Regions from separate parts of the Homo sapiens genome. Here region 1 is linked to region 2. The links are contacts of gene promoters, found by promoter capture Hi-C in blood cells and fetal thymus (Javierre and others, 2016). All regions are on one chromosome and are shown on one strand. The core of a region is centred on a gene start or on the middle of the fragment in contact, and the rest is flanking DNA. Distances in the headings are between cores, read along the strand shown.

Region 1 (7,274 bases), core at 4,632-7,131, 5.2 Mb before region 2:
TTTGGTGGGTGGGGCAACTACATCACAAATATGTGTCTGCTGTACCCAGGACTGAGTACCTAAGTTTCCTGGTGGAACAGAGCTAGGATCAGGTTGAAAAAAGGGCTGCTGTACAGTACTGGAATCTAAGAGTCACAGAATGGAGATGGCCTCACAAGAAACAAAGACACGAGGATGGGGTGTAGTACAAGGTCTCCAACTTAATCCTCTGCAATGACTTTTAGCAGGACCTTGGCTGACTGTGGGTGACAGGTGACTCCTATGCGAAATGTGAGTACAGGCCCAGGAAAATGTGATTAAAAATAAGTAACGTGTTCAGGGACTATTTACAGATATGCACACATCTTATGACACAATAGTGTAAGTGTAGTACAATATTGGAAAGCATCGCAGAGAGAGCTATTGCTCTACTAGAGCCCCTCTGGTAGAGAATGGGAGAAGACAGCCCTGGGTCAGAAGTCAGATTAGAAATGACAAGAGTGTACAGAATGGGGATAAAAAGGTAGAAATAAGTTAGGGCCTCTGGCCTTGGCACTTGTGATGGGCACAACATAGGTTTCCGGAACTACAGGAACCCAGCCCTGAGGTTATGGCGTCCCTCAGCTCCCACTCACCAGGGCCTGTCCAAGCCCCTCCTGCTGTGACTAGAGTCATGCCCTCTCAGGCAGCCAGAGTTCTCTCTCTTGTTACAATTCAACAACCACAGAGGATCTGGAAGATACAAAGCATAGGGGAAAGGTGAAACAGGCTGAGAGCACTAGCCAGAGTAGCCCACCCATGCAAAATTGCAAGAAAACAAATGCTACAAAATGAACCTCAGAAAATTGTCCTGCAGGAACAGTGCAGTGGGCCCACAAGTGGTGACCATGATGACTGAAATTGAGGACACAGGCAGACTCAAGGAAATTACAATTAGAGGAAGCGGGTGGAGCCTGGAGTCCAGAGGTGTCATGAGTGTGGACAGTCACCTGGCCAGGGAGAGGCCAAGCAGAATTCACTGGGTCACCTTAGGACCCCTGACCTCCAAACCCTTCCTGGCAAGGCTTCAGGGCAGCAGGAGTTGAGGAACACAGGGAAGAGAGGGGCCAATGCATCTAGCTGAGCCTAGGCACCCAGGGGACCTATGTGAGGGAATCAGAGAAGAGAGCAGTACCCATGCTCTAGCTATGGAAAGGAAAGAGCAACCCCTAGGGCAAAAAGGAAGAGTAGGACCCAGCCCAGAAAAATGGGATACTGGGGCCTTACCCAGGGAGACTATAAATGCGAAGCACAGAAGCCATTATTTCATAATAGAAGAGTCTCTGAGCCTCATCCAGCAGCTCCCATTCCTCCTAAGAGAAGTAAACAAATAAATCCTTGAAGGTCACATAGCCCTGTGTGAGGTGGACAACTGAGCTTAAGGACAGCCTCTCTCTCCAGGACTCCTTGTCACATCTAACTCAAATGAGATAACAGGCCCTGGTGTGATTGGTGCCTGTTCTCGACTCATATTCCATTAATCATTTTGTCCAGCTCAGAACAGGCAAGTGGACAGATAAAACACCATGGGCCTGGTATGTAGGACCCAACCCTTCTCCTATCAGCCAGCTCCCTGGGGATCAACAGATTATTCCTCATACACAAACCTGAGCTAAGCATTCTTTCAGAAACCCTCCATACCAAAGCTCTGGGCTCATGAATTCACACTCCATCTCCATGTGCACATCACCCTTTTGGCTATACCTCCTTTACATCTATGGACACCCACAACACTGGTACCTCCATGGCTTCCCCACATGCAAATCTGCACACAGCATCCAGAGAATGCTTGGATAATGCATCCAGGATTACATCTGGTCCTGATCAACGGCCACACTGCCATGGGTTGCCCTGAATCCACCTATTAAATCTTCCCCTCCTGGCTCTATTTCATGGGTCAATTCAGCAATCCAGAACCATGTGCAGATCCCAGATAAACTCAGCCCTTTTCTGCTTTGTTGTTGTACTACTGAGGTCAGTCACAGGCTTCTCAACATTTAACTCATTCAAAACCTACACTCACTGGGCACCTACCCCAAGCACAGGGATTCTGCCTACTGACCCAATCTGTCCCTGGGCTAATTCACTAGCTTGACTGAAACTCCACAGGTCCCACCAAAGGTCACCATGGAAGCCTGAGGAGCACATAAAGAGCTGAATAAGCACTGGCTCTGGCCTCACTGCCACCTCACTTCTATTACTACAGTACTTCACCTCACATCCACTCTCTGCCTGGAACGCTTTGCCACCTGCCTGACCCTATTATTCCCCTTCCTCCCAGGGACATTTCCCTCCCTCTTCTAGACTCTAAGATGGCCCCTACCTCTACCCTGCTGTGTCTGCCCTTACAGTGTGCTGATGGCACTGTCACCATGACCTAAAGATTCTCTCTCTAAATTGGAAGCAAAGCTCCATCCTGATCCACATGCTGGCTGCCACCCTGTGGATAGCTCCAACCTGAATCCCTTCTCTGAACTTCAGATCTCTGTGTCCAGCTGTCTACTTGACACCTCCACTCAAGTGTCTTTGGAACATGGTAGATTCCACATAGCCAAACTGCACTCCTGATATTACCTCTGAAAGGTACTCCTACCACCAACTTTGTCACTTCAGTTGATGGCATCTTTATATCTTCTCAGACTAAAAAATCCAGGGTCTTCCTTCACCCCTTGCCTTTTCTTTCTCATCTTCCACATCAGAAAATCTGGTTGGTCCCACTTTAAGAAAAATGATTCAGAATCCATCCACATCTCCCACCTCTACAGCGACCACTCTGGTCCAACCTGAACTGTTGCATTAAGCTCCTCAGTGGTATTCCTTCCTTCATCCTCACTCCCACAGTCTTTTTTCACTGTACAGAGGAAGTTGGTTAAGACCAAAGTCAGATCACTCCCTCCTAGCTCCAAACCTGCAGTGGCTCCCAATTCTCTCAGCATACAAACCCAGATCCTCAGGCTGCCATTTCTGGGCTGAATCCTGTCCCTGCTGTCTGATCCCACCAGACATAATGGAGGCCTGAGGTTCCCTGAACACTCCTAGTTTAGCCTTAAGTTAAGTATTTGCACATGCTGGTTCCTATGCCTGAGATAATGTTCCACATTTCATCCCATTGCTTGCCAGAAATAGAAACCCTTCCACATAATTCCAAAACAGAATTTACAACACAGAGCTTTGGGTGACTGCAGGACCTCCAAGAACGGTAGGCAGAAGGGACACTGAAGAGTCCCAGAACACTATCATTCTCCACACTGAGTTGCTGAGATAATGGGGGTGTGTTGGGCTAAGTGAGGGCCTGAGACAATCTACTCTCATCTAGGTAGGAATCATAAGTTTCTGCCACCATGGCAACCTCACAAGAGGAGGGAAGCTGGGAGTGGCAGGTTCCCACAGTGGGATCTCATCGACTGAACTGTTTCCCTAAGCCCTGCCTACCCTGCCCTTTGGCAGGAATGATTTTGGGTTACCTCTCTAACTTCAGATACTCAGATCTCAGTGCTGGCTCCCACCAGCTGTGTGAACATAAAGACCAGCGTCTGAGTGTCCTCATCTTAAAAGTGGGGATAATAATGGCACCCACCTCATAGGGCTACTGTTTGTATCAGGCTTGTCTGTACATCTCAAGTGCCTTTGAAACAGCTACTACTATCCATGCAAATGAACTGATGAGTTTTTGAAAAATTAGGTTTGTTTTGCCTGCTTTAAAGCTTTTAAGAAAATTTGGTTAAGATTTTTCCATTGTAATAAAATACTTCAAGGCAACTTAATATTTTGACCAATCATTAAGTGCTAGTATAAATTTCCCTTACTTTGTACATACATTTTTTAGTTCCTTCTGCGTACTTGCAAGGTGTACACTAGCCCTTGCACTAAACCAGCCTACCTGATACATATTCCTCTGAAGGGGAGCTGCAGTGATCCTTCATTAGAGATGTTCATCAATTCTGCTTACCTGAGGGTTTGGGTAACTGAGGCACCAATGCACTGGTTGGGGATGGGACTGCTCCACAGGCAGCGCCCATGAAGGCATGCTGAGCCTGTAGGGTGGCAAACCTACTGCATCCCTCACCTTGGTCTCCAGTGCAGGCCAGGCTACTTATGCTCTACAGCCCTCTCCTCTTGCTGACACTATAAGATATAATAAAATTCCTCTTCAAAGGTTTAGCCTGTTAACTTCCTTGTTCTTTGTTCTCAAACCTTTCTTGTTCTCCATGCCTCCTTGCCCCTAGTTACTATAAACAACCTTCCTGTAAGCACTAACCAATAATTCACATCTGTTCCCTTACTCACTTTGCACCCATTGCCCCCGCCAAAACCACACGTCCTACACAACTCACATGTCCCACCACTGTAACTCACCTTCCCCTTCCCTCTTCCTTATTTGGAAAATACTCACAAATACCCAATTGGCTCAGCTTAGATTAAGCGGTCCGACCCCAGCCCATGGGGGAGTGACACAGAGGAAGGTAGGGACTATGGGTTAGAGATAAAAACCCCTTCCCTCCTTTGTTCAGTGTGCTCTTGGGATCGTGATTAACACAGGCAGCACACTTGCACAGAAGTAAATTGCCTTGCTGAGAAAACTTTTGCCTGAGTGCTGGTTTCACTTTGCAGCACCAAGCATTGACTTCCAACAACACCATCTAGAATGCTTTCACATGCCAGGACCCCTCCTTTCTGGAAGGAATCTTAAGTGTCCACCCCTTCATCCCTGGCCTTCCACCCTAAACCCACCTCTCACTTCAGAGACCACACAAAATAACTTCCTTGAAATTCCACCCTCTAAATCTGATCTACTACAGGCTTTGACCTTATGCCTCACCCATTGAAGTCTCTAGCACAACTCCCTCTCTAGAACCCCAGACCTGCATGTTCAGCTACCCGTGATGAACCTCCAGTGCAGAACACCTTAGATTCACCAAGTCCAAAACCCAATTCCTGATGCCCCTGAAACGTGCTCCCTGCTGTGACTTACCAATTTCCATTCTTTCACACGTTCAGGAAGGAAAACAGGCCAAAAAAACCCTGGATAGCCCTTTCCTCCCTACATTCACTCACGACCACATCTGATGCGGCAGGAAACCCCATTGGTTCCATCTTTAAAAATCTACCCAGAATCTCATGACTTCCCCACCCAACCCCTCCTGCCACTGCTCTGGCCCAGCCACCACCGCAACACTTCTGGAGTTTGTTGCAGGGACCTCCTCAAACGTCTCCTTGCCTCCATCCTCATCGTTTCTACCTCACTGTAGTCGGTTTCCTCCTCAGCAAACATTGGAATACTTTAAAAATCCTTTTTCGGATCCCTTCCCTCCACCATTCAAAACCCGCCATGGCTCCTATCGTCCTCGCAATGAAGGAGCAACTTCTCCCCTCGACATTGCAGGCCTGACTACGGTTCACACACGCTCCCGACTGCTACGGGCTCAGTCCAGCTCCAAACCTATGCTCAGGCTGCCCCTCTGCCAGTCACACTCGCCCCCACCCACCAGCGCCCCGCTGCCTTGGACACTGGGGCCTGCGCTGCAGGGACTCAGACAGGCGCTCCTCATTTGGAACTTCAGGATTTGGGGCGGGCGAAAGTCTGGGAAAGGCAGCACCCACCTGCGCCGGGCCCATCACCGCGGCCGCCGCCATCACAGTTCGTAGACCACCCGGAGCCGCGAGGGGGTCCCAGGTCGCGGGACCCTGGCACCGCGGTCGTCCGTCCCCGGGGGCGCAGGCGGGGTCTTCGCTGGCGAGCCACTCCGCAGAGCGAACAGCGACTTCTCCCGCACCCTCCCGCTTCCGTCACCTCGGAACCGCCCAGCAACCCCGAGCTTCTGCTCCGATGGTTCCACCTAAGAGCCGACAAGATGTCCACCGCGAGGAAGATACCGGAAGTCCCGCCCAGAGAGCTTCCGTCCGCAGGGAGACGCCCCTAAGAGTGCCGCCGCCGGGCGGCGCACAGGTTTCTGGGCAATGCAGTTCTCATGTGCACTTGGCCGTGGTGACGGCTAACTCCCCTGCACGCTGGGCAAAGGCCAAATGGTACTGCGAGGGGCGCTGAGAAATTATGCCCTGAGACTCTGAGGTCAGGGCGTGGCTTCGCTCCTTTTAAAGGACCCTCAACCAGGTCTTGTGTAGTGAGGTCTGCAGGGATCCCCGAAATATTGGGATATATTCTTACAGATGTTCCCTGAAGCCACACCACCAAATGGACACACAACATCCAATGTCACTCTGAGTCCACTCATAGTTCAGTCAAATTTCCTTCATTTAAAAAATATGTGTACTGTAGAGGGAAGCTTTGAGTCAGTTTTGTGAGCCTCAGTTGGGTCAGAGTTAACAGAGAATTGTCCCCAGGCAGGGCCATGGAGTGGAAGAATGGTCTCCAGACAGTGGCTATGGAGGGATGCTGGAGCTCCCTGAGGCAAGTGGACTAATATAGAGCTCTTCCTCTGGTTTCCTCAGAAAAAAAATACCTGAGAGAACCATGAGGAGGAAGACAGGCGAGAGAAGGTGGTCAAGGAAGGCACCTTTCCTGCCTGTATGGTCACTAATGTCCAACCAAAGGAGAAATATTCTTTTATCCAAATGAGAGTTCCTAGCCCAAAAGTTGAGATATATCTATTTCCTTTTGGTGATGTTTCTTATCTGAAAAGAAGAACCATTATAAATGCTTTTATATGCCAAGACAGGGGCTGAAAATGTGGTGTCTGAACCCAGAAATAAAGATTTGGAAAATTGGGATCAGATTTCTTGGCTGGGAGGTGATTCTCATTTCACCTGCAATTACACCGACAGTGTCTGAATTGAGAATTGAGATTTATTTATGGTTTTAAAAAAGAAAAGGGCGAGTGTATGGGGAAAGAAAGACAAAAACATTTGTGAATTGTTTAAATTACTCAAAAGTTGTTTTGTGTTTTTTTTTTTTGAGACGGAGTCTTGCTCAGTCGCCCAGGCTGGAGTGCAGTGGTGCGACCATAGCTCACTGCAGGCTCCGCCTCCCAGGTTCACACTATTCTCCTGCCTCAGCCTCCGGAGTAGCTGGGATTACAGGCGCCTGCCACCATGCCCGGCTAACTTTTTGTATTTTTAGTAGAGATGGGGTTTCACCGTGTTAGCCAGGATGGTCTCGATCTCCTGACCTCGTGATCTGCCCGCCTCAGCCTCCCAAAGTGCTGGGATTACAGGAGAGCCCCCGCGCCCGGCCAAATTACTCAAAGTTAATAATTCTGTAGTTATTCACAGATACATGACGAAATGGACCTGGAGAA
Region 2 (7,489 bases), core at 1,387-3,886:
GACTCAGATAAAAAAAGGAGCAGTGGAATGGTTGGTGTCAAAACCTGATTGGATGGGGTCAAGCAAGAAATGGAGGAAAGAGTGAGAGAGCGCCTAAACAAGATTTTGGTATATTGTGCTCTTACATGGAGCACAGAAAAGGCATACTTATTGCAAGTAAAAATGTAGCTAATACTTTGTTTTTTCTTCTGAGGATGAAATAGTGGAAAAAATAAAGGCGTGTGTGTGTGTGTGTGTGTGTGTGTGTGTGTGTGTGTTTTAATGGGCAACAACTCCATCTGGGTATGCTGACCAAAATAATTCCCTTGAAGTAAAATCTGATGACACTGTGGAGGAGGGATGCCGTGGCATCAGGAGAGAGTGAATGGGGCTGGCCTGTGGCACACAGTCTCAGCATCAGCAGCAGCCAGGAGCAGGGACAGACAATTCCCAGTCACTACTAAGAACACAGTCCTAGAGACAGGTGAGTGGGCCTGTTGGAAAATTCTTCCCCTTACTGTTTGAGACAGGAAAAAACCACACTGTTTTTACTACTCTCACACCCAAAGGAGAATCCCTCACCTTTAGTGATCAAAATGTGTCTGTGGTTGTTCCTACACTGACCAGTTAAACTGAGTAAAATTACAGAACACCCAGGTGCTGTCTGACGAAGAACTGCTTGTTGGTGACAAGTAATTCCCATATTACTTTGGTGACCAGAGATGAGGCATTCTGTGTTGAGCGCTCTTTATTGTGTTCACTGTGAACACAAAAACACACTGGTTTTTCCTAACTTATACACTCACACCCTAGTCCATCCCAAGAAAAGAGAAGAGTGCCTTATAAATAGTGTTCCAATTCTCATCTTCATGTGTGGTTTTTTGTTTTTTGTTTTTTGAGATGGAGTCTTGCTCTGTCACCTAACCTGGAGTGCAGTGACACGATCTCGGCTCACTGCAACCTCTGCCTCCCAGGATTAAGCGATTCTCCTGCCTCAGCCTCCAGAGTAGCTGGGATTACAGGCGCAGGCCATCAGGCCCAGCTAATTTTTGTATTTTTACTAGAGATGGGTTTCACATGTTGGCCAGGCTGGTCTCAACTCCTGACCTCAAGTGATCCGCTCACCTCAGCTTCCCAAAGTACTGGGATTACACGTGTGAGCCACAGCTCCTAGCCTCATGTGTTCTAAACAAATTTTATATTATAGAAAAATTAATATGTCACAATTCAATCATAATTTCCAATCAACTCACCACTCATCTGTAACCAGGGTCCCCCTCTTTCCTCACTACTGTTTCCCTGCCTCATTCTGTACATATCTCTCATTCTCATCTTTTTTCCTAGCTCTTTTTTTCTCTATTTTCCCCTAGGATTCTGTTCATTTTGAGTCCCTCCTCTTCTCTTTGTCCCATTCTTCCCTCTATTCCTTCTCTCCCACCTGTTCTGATCCATTTTTACAACTTGTTTCACCTCTTATTCCTCTTTCTGCCCAATCTTTCATTGTCCCTAATCTCCATATATTTCTGCCTCTTTCCTCCCACATCTCAGCTCCCCTTGGGGTCTCCCTGTTAAATTCCATCTTCGATATTACACACCCCTGTCCCCACTCTCTGGCACCCTTAGATCCCAGGCCTCCCCCTGCTGTGGTTCTCCCTGTTCTCCTTGTGACCAGCTGCCCCCTCTGGCTGTCCCAGCACCACGCTGCTCTGTCTGACCTGGCTCCAAATCCCTCCTCCTCTCCCCCCTCTGTCTGAGAAGCCTTCCCTATCTTGTTGAATTTCGTCTTTCTACAGACCCAGGTTTGTCTATATTTTTACAGTTACTTTTCTCCCCTGCTATTTTCTCGGCACCTTCTTTCACTGTGCCTCTGCAAACCCCTCACTCACCTTCTACTTTGCCTTCTGTTAATGGGTCTCTCATTCTTCATTTCTCTTTCAAAATTTCTCTATTTCCTCTGCCTCGTTCCCATCTCTTTTTCTCCACACATTCACAGGGAGGGGATTGGAATAAGATGCCCACTTCCGGAAGAGCTCATTTTCTGTGGGCTGGAAACTGGCTCGAGAGAACACTGGATGTCAGGAGACTGAAGTCACCCCCCACACTCGGGGTCAGGAGAACCGGTGGCTGGAAAAGGGAGGCCTGGGGAACAGAGGGTCCAGATTAAGGAGCAAAAAGGCAGGAGTGGGTCAGGAGAGGGGTGGAGTCTGCAGAAACCAGGTCTGGGCAGAGGACGAGGCCTCTCGTGCCCTGTTGGGGCGCTGAGCTCTAGGGGCAAAGAAGGGCGAGGCTAGGGGAACGGAGAGTGAGGATTTTACGTGGTGCGGGGCGTGTGTAGGGGTTACTAAAGGATTTGAAGCAGGTAAACCCCACGATAGGAGGTGTCTACGTGGGTAAATGACAAAAAGACCGGGCACACGACCAGCCTCCAAGCGATTTTAACACGCAGAAAGCGACTCCCAGACTCTCAAAGGATGTCTGAATTTACTCGGGGTGGAGGGAGCGGTGCCGGGATTTCAAGGTCTGCATGCCCCTCAGCTCCCGGGTATAGAAGCAGAGAAGAACTGGCTAGCCTAGACTTAACATAGACAAAGGGAAACTCACGCACTGCTGCGAAAACAGTTTCTCCCTGCAATCGGCTTCCGGGTCTACCGGAAACTGCGCTCTAGGCGTTCGCCCCCCGCGGTCCGCTTCCGGGTTTGCACGAAATTGCGCGCGCATCCTAGAGGCCGGACTGGCTGGGACCAGGGCGGGCCGGGACAAAGCCTGGGCCGGGCCTGCGCTTCCGTTCGCTTGACTGGCTGCGCTTGTTTTCAGGGTTTTGGTCTGAAAACGGATCTTACCTGCGCAGAGCAAAATCGGTTGTAGATTATATCCACGAAAATTCCTTCTATTAAAATGAATTTCAAGTCCCACCTACCCTGGAAGCAGAAAGAGAGAGAAGAGAGAGAGTAAAGAGAAAGAGAAAAGAAAGAGAAGTTGAAAAAGAGAAAGAAAACCAAGAAAGAAAGAGAAAAAAACCGAAAATAAATGGACAAGAAAGAAAAGTAAGGAGGGAAGGGAAGGGAGGAAGGGAAGGGAAGCTTTAGGAATTGAATTAACACACTTTGGAATTGTCTGTGAAGGGGATGATGCAAGCTAAAATGTGAAATGCAAAACCCTGCCAGGGTAGAATGTTCTATTTCATGCCAGTGCCCATAGAAGATAAATACTTTTCATTTATCTTCCCCATTCACTCTAGACGGTGAAGGTCAACCCTGTGCTCAATTCCAGAGACTTTCCTAGGGACATCGTGTTGGGCATGGAGGACTAAGGCCAGTGTGAAGATAAGTCACCGATTCTTTAAAAAAAAAAAGCCAGTAACTTATAAAAATAGCCATAAACGACGTAGTTTTTTGTTGTTGTTGTTGTTTTGAGACAGCGTCTCCCTCTGTCCCCCAGGCGGGAGTACAGTGGCAGGCACTCAGCTCACTGTAACCTCCGCCTCCTGGGTTCAAGTGATTCTCTTGCCCCAGCCTCCAGAGTAGCCACCACGCCCGGTCCAACTTAGTTTTTTAATACTTTTTAAAATTTTAAGACAGGGTCTCTGCCACCGAGGCTGAAATGCAGTGGCGCAATCATAGCTCACTGCAACCTTGACTTCCTGGGGTCCTGGGCAGGTGACCCCCTGTCTCAGCCTGCCGAGTAGCTGTGAGTAAAGGCCTGTGCCTCTCCACTGTGCTAATTTTCTACTGTTTGTTGCTTTGTTTTTAATAGAGATGTAGTCTGGTTTTGTTGCCCAGGCTGGTCTCCAGCTTCTAGCCTCAAGCAGTCTTCCCATCTGCTCCTACCAAAGTGCTCGGATTATAGGCATGAATCACCTTGCATGGGAGATAAGGACCCCCACATCAAGCCCTCAGGTTATTTTTGAAACACAAATACATAAGGCCCACAAGCAGGCCCATTGGCTGCAGACAGTGGGGTCACCTGAAGAACTTTTCTTTGATCTGAGTACCAACTTCTCACCTAGGTCACTGGGATCCTGGACTACGGCACTGCTCCAGGCAGGCCTGGTTATCCTGCTTGAGGCAGCAATCCTCTTGAGCCTAGTGAAATGCAACTGGCTGTACCTCAATGATGTTGCCCTGAGATTCTGCCAGTCGAGGTATTACTTCAATCTCCTGAGACCAGCCTCTACCTCCAGATCCAGGGAGGTCAGTGCACATGTAAATGGACTAGCTTTATTAAAGGGGATATCTGGGCCAGGCGTGGTGGCTCACGCCTGTAATCCCAATACTTTGGGAGGCCGAGGAGGGCAGATCACCTGAGGTCGGGAATTAGAGACCAGCCTGGTTAACATGGTGAAACGAAGTCTCTACTAAAAATACAAAAAAAAAAAAAAAAAAAATTAGCCAGGCATGGTGGCACACGCCTGTAGTCCCAGCTACTCGAGAGGCTGAGACACAAGAATTGCTTGAATCTGGGAGGTGGAGGTGCAGTAAGCCAAGATTGCGCCACTGCACTCCAGCCTGGGAGACAGAGCGAGACTCCGTCTCAAAAAATATAAAAATAAAAGGGATATCTGGATTGGCGGAGAGACTGCAGGACAGCATTCAAGTGGGGTTGAATTGGCCCAGTTGCATCTGACTTCTCACTTGTAGTTCCCAAGAATGAATATAGAATGTGCTGGAAAAGCAACATCCTGAGAGGAAGGGACCGGTGAGAAAAGGACAGGATGTGTTCCAGATCCCCAGAACAGGATCCCCTTTGTTGCTTTAGGCCAACGTGCCATGCATCCCTGGAGCATGAAACCCAGGATGGGCCGCCTTCCAGCCTCCCACAGCTGTGATGCAAGTTGAACACATACAGAGAGACTGCATCTGCACTGGGTGGTTTTCCTGAGCCTTGGGGAGCAGAATGCATGAATCCCAGGTATCTGCCGATCTGTATGTAACAAATTCACTTCATGTAACTTACTGTGTGTCCGTGAGATTATCTCTCACTCAACTCAGACACATTGGCAACCAGTGTGCAGTGAACCTGCTTCACAAGCAAGGATGTGGAGAAACTATTTTCGTACATTTTGTGGGAATCTGAAATACTGCGGTCAGTATGGAAAGCAGTATCATGGGAAACTTCCTCAACTCAAGATCACCTACCAATCCTTACAGAATCAGAATCATCATACAAACTGGTGAAAGCATAGTTTCCCCTAGAGGTTGGGATGAGGGCAAGAATGTCCCCTCTTATCACTACTATTCCACACAATATGAAAGGTTCCAGCCAGTGAAATAAAGGAAAAAGAAATAAAAGTGACAGGCTGGGTGTGGTGTCTGAGGCCTGTAATCACAGTGCTTTGGGAGGCTGAGGAAGGAGGGTGGCCTGAGGACAGGACAAAAAAAATAGTGTACCAACAGAAAATATGTTGGTTGTGCAGGCTAATACCTTTCCCAAAGGAAGGTAGCTACATCCCTATGACCTGTGTTACTGGATATATCAAAAGGGAGTTTGCAAATGTGGTCTAGATAAGGATCTTTAGATAGACATCCTGAATTATATGGTCAAAGTGATAGAATCACAAGGTTCAATATCAGAAGGGTGCAGGTGGATGCGAAGGGACAGAGACAGTGGTGATGTGTTGAAAATAGAGGGATAAAGAGATTTTTTTTCTCACCTTTAAAGATGGAGGAAGTGGACCATGAGTCAAAGGATGTAAGTGGCCTCTGGAACCTACAAAGGGTAAGGAAACAAATTCTCCCCTGGAGATTAATGAAGAATCACAGAACTATGGACCCATATTAGATATGTGACTTACAGAATTATAAAAGAATAAATTTTTCTTGTTTTAAGCCAATCACTGTGTATAGCAATAGGAAACTGATGAAATGATTTTATGTAGAAAATTCCAAAAAAATCTACAAAAATCTCTAGAACAAGAAAAATGTAAAGGTAGCAAAGTATAAGGTCAACCTACAAAAATATCGTATATTTCATCAGCCAGGCATGGTGGCTCGTGCCTGTAATCCCAGCACTTTGGGAGGCCAAGGCAGGCAGATCACTCAAGCTCAGGAGTTTGAGACCAGGCTGGGTAACATGGTGAAACCCCATCTCTACAAAACACAAAAATTTAACAGGCCATGGTGGCACATGCCTGCAGTGCCAGCTACTGGGGAAGCTGAGGTGGGAGGATGACTTAAGCCTGCAGGACACAGGTTGCAGTAGCTGAGATTGCTCCACTGCACTCCAGCCAGGATGACAGAGTAAGGCCCTGTCTCAAAATAATAATAATAATAATCTTGTATATTTCTATACACTAGCAATTTGCACATGAAACCTGATATTAAAAATAAAATACTATGTATGATTGCTCCATTAAGAAAAAGGTCAAAGAGGCCGGGTGCAGTGGCTTACACCTGTAATCCCAGCACTTTGGGAGGCCAAGGCAGGTGGACTACGAGGTCAGGAGATCGAGACTATCCTGGCTAACACGGTGAAACCCCATCTCTACTAAGAAAATACAAAAAAATTAGCCAGGTGTGGTGGCGGGTGCCTGTAGTCCCAGCTACTGGGGAGGCCGAGGCAGGAGAATGGCGTGAACTCAGGAGGCGGAGCTTGCAGTGAGCTGAGATCGCGCCACTGCACTCCAGCCTGGGCGACAGAGCAAGACTCCGTCTCAAAAAAAAAAAAAAAAAAAGGGGGGGGGCAAAGAAATACATGTGAAACAAAACATTCATAGAACTGTTATGTTACAACTACCAAATGCTGATAAAAGAAATCAAAGACAGCAAATAGAGACATATACCATATACATTTATTGGAAGACTCCATGTAAAGCAATATGAATTATACAAATCTGACACATAGGGTTAATACCTTTCCTAATTAAGGCATTCTGCAGATACTAACAAGGTTAGCAGTTATGTAGAAAGACAAAAAACCCAAACACCTAAAATAGCTAAAACATCTGACCAACAACAACAAAAGATTGGTATCACTTCATGTGATTTCAAGTCTTCTAATACAATAAAAGTATTTTTTCCCTTTCTCATATTTACAGTAAACCTAGTTTGTATTTGTCATTGTCTCGAAGCAAGAATCTGTCCCAGAAAAAAAAAAAAGAAAGAAAGAAAATTTCCATTCAAAACTAACAGGATTTAGGCCAGGCATGGTGGCTCACACCTGTAATCCCAGCCCTTTGGGAGGCTGAGGCGGGCAGATCAAATGAGGACAGCAGTTCGAGACCAGCCTGGCCAACTTGGTGAAACCCTCTCTCTACTAAAAATACAGAAATTAGCCAAGGATGGTGGCAGGCACCAGTAATCCCAGCTACTCAGGAGGCTGAGGCAGGAGACTAGCTTAAACCTGGGAGGCAGAGGTTGCAGTGAGCCGAGATTGCGCCACTGTACTCCAGCCTGGGCAACAGAGTGAGACTCTGTCTCAGAAAAGAAAAAAAAAAAAAAAACTAACAGGATTTATACTATTGGTTTTCCACAGAATTCTCCCAGTTGCAGAGTTTCCCAAACACTATTTATTA

What was found. Contacts are between HindIII fragments. The CHiCAGO score rates a contact against its expected background, and 5 or more counts as called.
Region 1: a contact is called between the fragment with the promoter of ZNF134 here and the fragment with the promoter of ZNF528 in region 2, in 3 of 17 cell types (non-activated CD4 T cells, total CD4 T cells and naive CD4 T cells). The highest score is 8.5, in non-activated CD4 T cells.

The regions. Positions count from the first base shown.
Region 1 is chr19:57,612,849-57,620,122 of GRCh38, reverse strand. ZNF134 (zinc finger protein 134) reads right to left here and starts at 5,881. Exons shown (of 3, transcript NM_003435.5): 1 at 5,620-5,881; 2 at 615-711. The coding sequence starts at 654. RefSeq lists a silencer at 5,627-5,676 and an enhancer at 5,807-5,986. The HindIII fragment of the contact is 2,580 bases long and covers 3,725-6,304 here.
Region 2 is chr19:52,392,996-52,400,484 of GRCh38, reverse strand. ZNF528 (zinc finger protein 528) reads right to left here and starts at 2,636. Exons shown (of 7, transcript NM_032423.3): 1 at 2,581-2,636; 2 at 1,866-2,118. It overlaps ZNF528-AS1 (ZNF528 antisense RNA 1), which reads left to right and starts at 2,728. Exons shown (of 7, transcript NR_125345.1): 1 at 2,728-3,023; 2 at 3,218-3,290; 3 at 3,733-3,875; 4 at 3,986-4,120; 5 at 4,735-4,887; 6 at 5,638-5,694. It also overlaps a transcript of ZNF880 not described here. RefSeq lists an enhancer at 2,125-3,324. The HindIII fragment of the contact is 5,447 bases long and covers 1-3,061 here.